2 separate regions of the Homo sapiens genome follow, and region 1 is linked to region 2. The links are contacts of gene promoters, found by promoter capture Hi-C in blood cells and fetal thymus (Javierre and others, 2016). All regions are on one chromosome and are shown on one strand. Each heading gives the region's core, a stretch centred on a gene start or on the middle of the fragment in contact. The rest is flanking DNA. Distances are from core to core; before and after follow the strand shown. Region 1 has its middle 11 kb from the start of TNRC6B-DT. Region 2 holds the start of RPS19BP1 (ribosomal protein S19 binding protein 1).

Region 1 (3,402 bases), core at 517-3,016, 520 kb after region 2:
AAAAAAAAATACCCCTTTAACACACAGGTGAAATGGTTAATTCTTCCTAGGAAGATTGAATTTCTCTCTGTTCTCTTAGACTTTACTCATTTCTGACATAGACTACATTATATCATGTTTCTTAATCTGTCTCTCCTGCTGGATTGCAAATTTCTTAAGTGAGACTATTGTAGTCATCTTTGCATCCCTAGGCACATACTGTACTGTGTCTGTCATATCGTAGACACTCAAATGTTTGTTAAATAAATAACTTGAAGTAAGTTACTTAGCTTTGCAGAGTCTTAGTTTTTTCTTTTGCAAGTAGGAACTTCTCTACTTCAGAGAATTGTTGAAACTGTAGTGAGAATAATCTTTTAAAACTACAGATGTGTTCTGTGTATATCTTAATTTAAAACATTTACTTAAAAAGCAAGTGTAAATCTGATCATATTTCTCCCCTACTTAAAACTGTTAATAACTGGGTGCACAGGCTCGTGCCTGTAATCCCAGCACTTTGGGAAGCTGAGGTGGGTGAATATCTTGAGCTCAGGAGGTCAAGACCAGCCTGGGCAACATAGCAAAACCCTGTCTCTGCAAAAAATACAAAAATTAGCTGGGCGTGGTGGTGCCTGCCTGTAGTCCCAGCTACTCAGGAGGCTGAGGTGGGAGGCTAGCTTGAGCCTGGAGGCAGAGGTTGCAGTCAGCCGAGATTGCGCCACCACACTCCAGTGTGGGTGACAGAGTGAGACCCTGTCTCAAAAACAAAACTGTCAGTGAGGCCTAAAGACCCTGATAAGAACCTGAATTCTTGTTCTTGCCTTTTTCACTGACTGCCCAGTGAAGCTTCTGCCAGCGTCCCCTGCCTCTTTTCCTACTGTCTTCCCCCTTGCTGAGTGTACTCTCACCATACTGACCCTCTTCAAGTTCCGGAAATGTGTGTTCTTCACTACCCAAGGTCCCTTCCTTGAGCATACTATTCTCACAGCTGGAAGCCCGCAGGCCCAACCTTAGTTAATGCCTCTTCAATCCTGAGCTCAGTGTGTGTGTCTCCTCTTTAATGACTTCCTAATCACCCCGCCCCACATTAGAAGATATCAATTGTATAATTATTTAATTTGTATATTATATTTCCCCTTCTGGAAAATAGCTACATGAATAAAAATACTCTGTTTTATTCACATTTGTGTCACCAACATCTAGCACTGTGAGTTGCACATAGTAGGTCCTCAATAAATATTTTTTCAAATGAAGTTAAGAAAGAGAATTTAAAATAGAATTTCTAAAAAACCTCATTTTAGGCAAAGCTTGGTGGCTCATGCATGTAATGCCAGCACTTTGGGAGGCCAAGGCAGGCAGGTCACTTGAGTCCAGGAGTTCGAGACCAGCCTGGGTGACATGGTGAAACCCATCTCTACAAAAAAAAAAAAAATTAGCTGGTTGTAGTAGTGCGCGCCAGTAGTCCCAGCTACTCGGGAGGCTGATACAGGAAGGTTGCTTGAGCCCGGGAGGCAGAGGTTGCAGTGAGCTGAGATTGCACCATTAAGCTCCAGCCTGGGTGACAGAACAAGACTCCGTCTCCAAAAAAAGAAAAGAAATTATGCTTGGGCTTGACATGATGACGCTCTCACTAAACATTTGAATGCATAGACATGCTGAATGCTGTGCTAGGAGCCAGGACTACAGAGGTGGGGCGAAAGGAGATCTTTGTTCCCAAGGAATGCACAGCCAGGTGGGTGAGACAGATGTGGACACAGATGAGTGCCATTTAGTGTAATAAGTGCTGTAATAGACAGTACAAGAGGTGCTGCGGGGATGAAAAGGAAGGTCATCAACACGATGGGGAGGTTGAGAAAGCCTTCCCAGGGAAGGTGACACTCACACTAAGTTGTGGAGGAAAAGGGCATTTCCGGCAGAGAGAACAGCCTGTGTAGAGGCATGGGGGAGCGTTTTTAGTATGTGGAGAAGATGACCGGCACAGCGGTATGCTTTACAAGGCTGGCATTAGGGTACAGGGCTAATAGCTGACTTACAGTTGAACCATGATATGTCAGACTCAGCCTCTTACTCCACTGCAGTTTAGGACAGGAAATGACCTTAGAATAATGATCTGAATCTGTATGTTTGAATTCATAAAGGCATAGAGTACCATTCAGAGAAGATAATCATAAACCACAACGGCACTTGTCACTTCTAGTTAATATACTTGCTTCAGTGGTGTACCTATAACCATGCAAATGATGTTAGGTGGAATTAGAAAGTGGTGACTCATTTAAGCTTATCTGTAGGAGCAGAGAGTGTAAAGGAAGTGACTTCTAGATCACCTGAGGTGAGTGCTGATACCATCTCAAATGGATCAGACACTGAACCAGTGAAAGAGAGGAAATCAGAAAAGAGGACTACCCAGAAGGGCCTCTGGTATATGTTCTGGGAAAGACAGTTCCTACAGCTTGAAGGTCTTTACATATCTCCAAGTCTCCAAGTGGTTCACTGAGCTAACATTAATCTAATTTAATTCTCAACCAGATTTGAAAAAGGGAGATTAATTGGATAAAAATGTAGCCCATTTTCCTTCATTTACTCCTATTTGTTTTCAATGTCTCTTTCCTTTTCTGTCTCCTCCTATCCATTTTTCTCTCCCTGTTACTCTTAAGTAGTGTCTCCTTTCCCCATCCACCCCATCTCTAGCCATCTTCCATTCTATTTCCGCTAAGTTGCTTTCAGTTGCAGGATGTCCATACCTTGTTGGCTAAACTAATGTTTCTCAGCTTTGCATATTCAGAGCTTGATATTTTTCAAATGGGAAGAAGTGATTATGCTCTGGTAGTGCTGATTACACTCACAAGATGTTAATTGACTTACGGTAATGCCGATTTCTGCAAGTTCTGTGTATGTATTTGATCTACATAACAAAGGGCTAAGGAGCTAAGTGATGATAGGGAGAATGGTAGTAATGAATGCAGTTTAGTTTAAGATGTTTGGAAGAGAAAGGACAGAGAAAAATGGAAGCAGGACGAGGTTGAGAAGGCAACACCTTTAAGTAAGATAGAAAATCAGGCTGGGTGCAGTGGCTCATGCCTGTAATCCCAGCACTTTGGGAAGCCAGAGTAAGAGGATCACTTGAGGCCAGGAGTTCGAGACCAGCTTGAGCAACATAGTGAGACCCCCATCTCTACAAAAAATGTTTTAAACATCAACTGAGCATGATGGCACATGCCTGTAGTCCTAGCTACTCAAAAGGCTGAGGCAGGAGGATTGCATGAGCCCAGGAGTTGGAGGCTGCGGTGAGCTAGGATTGCATCACTACACTCCAGCCTGAGAGACAGAGTGACACCCTGTCTCAAAAAAAAAAAAAAAAAGAAAGAAAAATCTATAATCTATTAAAAGATATACAGGAAGCACCCAGCGGAGAAAGAAAAATGGAAG
Region 2 (3,463 bases), core at 821-3,320:
ACTGCACCACTGTACTCCAGCCTGGGTGACAAAGCAAGACTCCATCTCAAAAAAAAAAAAAACAAACCAAAAACAACAACAAAAACAGCTGGAGTAGGGGGAGTGGGTAGCAGGAAGAGACCAAGTTTGGCTGGGGGTGGGGGTAGGTCATATAGCCCTTGTCAGGCACCCTAAGACCGCCACCTTTTAGTGACTACAATGAGAGCCACCCAGAGGAAAAACAAGGAATGACTTCTGATTTTACACGATCACTTTGGTTGCTGTTGAGAACAAGATTACGGGGGGAGGGGCATGTGGAAGGCAGGAGACCGGCTAGGCTTCTGCAATAATTCAGGCAAGAGACGATGCAGCTTGGAGCAAAGTGGCAGCTGCAGAGGTGTTCTTTCCATTGGCTGCGAGGCTTGCCATTCCTCTCACTCAGCATCTATGTGCCAAAACCTGTGGTGGACACCAAGGCTGCGGACAAGCCCAAGGAGGTGTGTGCCTTTAGGAGCTTCCATCCAACAGGGGAGGTGGGTGAGCACCCAGGACACGACAGTGAGACAAGGGCTGGGACAGATGGGAATGACCTCTGGCACTCCACACTCCTGCTTCATGGCAAGTATCGCTGGGGCTCAAACCTGTCTCACTTTCCTGCCTCCAGACTTTGGCTTAAGTTGTATTTCCTCCTTGGAATTCATAATTCTTTTAACAAATACTTTAACATCTTTTATGCATTAGACTCTAGGGATTCAGACACAGTAAGAGCTTGCCACGTCCTGACACATGTCAAAATATCACCATCTTGCCTACACCAGCCCCTCCGAAAGTCTTTATGTCTATTAAGTGACACTACGTCCCCCAAGAAACTAGGCTCCACCTTCACAGCCAATTCACCACTAAAACCCCTCTAAAGGCTGAAATTCTCTGCTGCCCCCTCTTTAACATATTTTCCACCTGCACAATTCTCTTGTTATCTCTGCTGCTATAGCCACTGCCCAGGCCACAGCATGTCCTATTTCAATGGAGTAGGTAATAGCAGCACTCTGGAGACACAATGCCCGGGCAGCCACAATGCCTGTACCACCTGGGCAGGTGCCTTTTTCTGAATCTGTAAAACGGGGGTGATAGTAGTATCGACCTCAAAGGGCTGCTGTAAGGATCAAACGAGCTTACATTTGTACAGCACTTAGAATCAGCACCTGGTACAGAGTGTTAGTGAATGTGTTTAAATGCTCCATCTTTGATCCTCATTCACTAGGTCACCTTTACCAGCCTTTATTTTTTCAAATTCTCAAAGGCAACAACCTCCTTTCTGACTCAGGACCTTTGCACATACTATTCTTCCTAGAATATTCTCCTACTTTTCACCTAGCTCACTCTTATACATCCTTCAGCTCTCGGCTGAAATGTCGCTTCCTCAGAGAAGGCTGACTTGGCCTAAGTCCCCATCAGAGTACCGTAGTCTTTTAATTCATAGGCTTCAATGCACTTAGCAATGACACACTGGGTTTGATATTCTTTGATGCTTCTCTCCCCACTAGGGCCGTAGTCCACGAGGACCAGGACGGTGGCGTGTTCTGTCACCTTCGTATGTCCAGGGCCCCGCTCCGCGCCTGGCACACAGTAGGTCTAGCAATACCGGGCGAACGCTTCAAGCCCTGCCTCAAGCGCCACCTCCTCTGGGGCGCAGGTCCCAGCACCGGAGGCAGCACTTTCAGCCCCTTCCCGAACTTACCCAGTGCCGACTTGGGCACCTTTCCCTTGGCCGAGTTCCGCAGTTTCTGGGCCTGAATTGCCTTCGTCTTCCGGGGCCGTTTCACCGGAGCCCCTCTCGGCTTGGCCTGACCTGGAGGGTCCCGGGGGGCTGTAGGGGAAGAGAGAGGAAGAGACCCAGGTCAGAGGGCGCGCAGCGTTCCCATGCCACTGGGGCTAAGCCCGGCCTGGATTGTTTTCCATCCAGGGCTCCCGCCCGCAGCCACTACCATCCTCCTGCCCGCGCCGGACGTCCCCTGGCCAGCCCTCCTCACCCTCGGACGCCGCCAGCAGCTCCAGGCCCCGCCGCAGCAGGGCGGCGGACATGGCGGCGCTTGGCTCCGCCCACGAGCCTCACACTACTTCCGACCTGGCAGTCCCTGTCGTCTCGGCGGAAACCCGAGCCCGAACAGAGGGATCCGGAGGGGGATGGGCGGAAGTGCCCATCTTTCTTAGGACGCATGCGTTAGGGGTTTACACTTGAGCGGAAGAAGGGGCGGAAACTGGAGGCGGGTCCAAGGCGCAGAAAGACACATGTGTTACTCAATCCCAATCTACCTGGCTCCTGGCGCTCAGTCCCCTCCTTCCCCGGAAGCCGTCCGCAACCTGCTCCGCCGGGTTGGCCAATCCTCTCGGGTCTCGTGGCTCCGTGGCGGGCTAGGATGGGGACAGGGCGGAGTGTTTTTCATATACTTCAACCAGCACTAGGTATCGCACAGGTTGAGTGCAGCATGAGAATCCAGTTGTCTTCCCTTAAGCCAGACATTAAAGACATATCTTTGTTTTGAAAACTACAATTATTTCTCATAAAATACGTTGTTTATGTTACCAAGCAATGGGTTTATTGTCATTTTAAGTGAATTAATGAATATGTAAAATTTTTGTTTTAGTTTCTAGTATGGCAAATATCAGTTGCCTACATACAAAAGTTCTTTGGGATCCTGAATTTTTTAAAATTTATTTTATTTAATTAAATTAATTTTTTTTTTGAGACGGAATCTCGCTCTGTCGCCCAGGCTGGAGTGCAGCGATCTCGGCTCACTGCAACTTCCGCCTCCCGGGTTCAAGCGATTCTTTTGCCTTAGCCTCCCGAGTAACTGAGATTACAGACGCCCGCCACCACGGCCGGCTAATTTTCTTTTTAAAAAATTTTTAGTAGAGACGGGGTTTTGCCATGTTGGCCAGGCTGGTCTTGAACTCCGGACCTCAAGTGATCCGCCCACCTCAGCCTCCCAAAGTGCTGGGATTACAGGAGTGAGGGGATTCTGAAGTTTTAAATGTAAGAAGCTTCTTAGACCAAAACATTTGAGCCCCTCTGGCCTAGAAGTGACACTGCTTACCTGGGGGAGGAGCCCTGGGCTTGTTCGCTGCTCCATCTGCAGCTGGCAGCCCAGCACCTGGCATGGAGAAGACACGCAATAAGTGAACGGTGAATCAGAAGGGACCACTGGGTTCACTCAGCCGGGTTCTGAGGGCCTTCTGTGTACTTGACACCACAGAGTGTGGGACCTGGAGTTCGTCCTCCGGGATAGACCACACCGTTTAAGCTCCATCGGCTAGAGAGTAATAATAACAACCAACACAAACTCAAGCATTTGTGCTGTTCTACGTGCTTTACATTTGTTAACTTGTTTATCCCCCCTACCCTTCCAGGTAGGAATTGTCTTTTGCATTTTACAGACGAGGAAACAAACACAGAGAGGCGAAGGTCACACGGGTGGAGTCAGGG

What was found. The method cuts DNA at HindIII sites, captures the fragments that hold promoters and counts their contacts. A CHiCAGO score of 5 or more calls a contact.
Region 1: a fragment that was not itself captured here is called in contact with the fragment with the promoter of RPS19BP1 in region 2 in 1 of 17 cell types (activated CD4 T cells); the score reaches 7.0 in activated CD4 T cells.

What each region holds. Positions count from the first base shown.
Region 1 is chr22:40,053,480-40,056,881 of GRCh38, forward strand. It overlaps a transcript of TNRC6B not described here. Among named protein-coding and RNA genes, the nearest start is that of TNRC6B-DT, 11 kb to the left of the region's middle. The HindIII fragment of the contact is 970 bases long and covers 1,282-2,251 here.
Region 2 is chr22:39,530,678-39,534,140 of GRCh38, forward strand. RPS19BP1 (ribosomal protein S19 binding protein 1) reads right to left here and starts at 2,071. Exons shown (of 4, transcript NM_194326.4): 1 at 2,010-2,071; 2 at 1,718-1,846. The coding sequence starts at 2,061. RefSeq lists enhancers at 1,285-1,800, 1,801-2,316, 2,106-2,165, 2,216-2,265 and silencers at 1,526-1,655, 1,836-1,995. The HindIII fragment of the contact is 8,920 bases long and covers 1-3,019 here.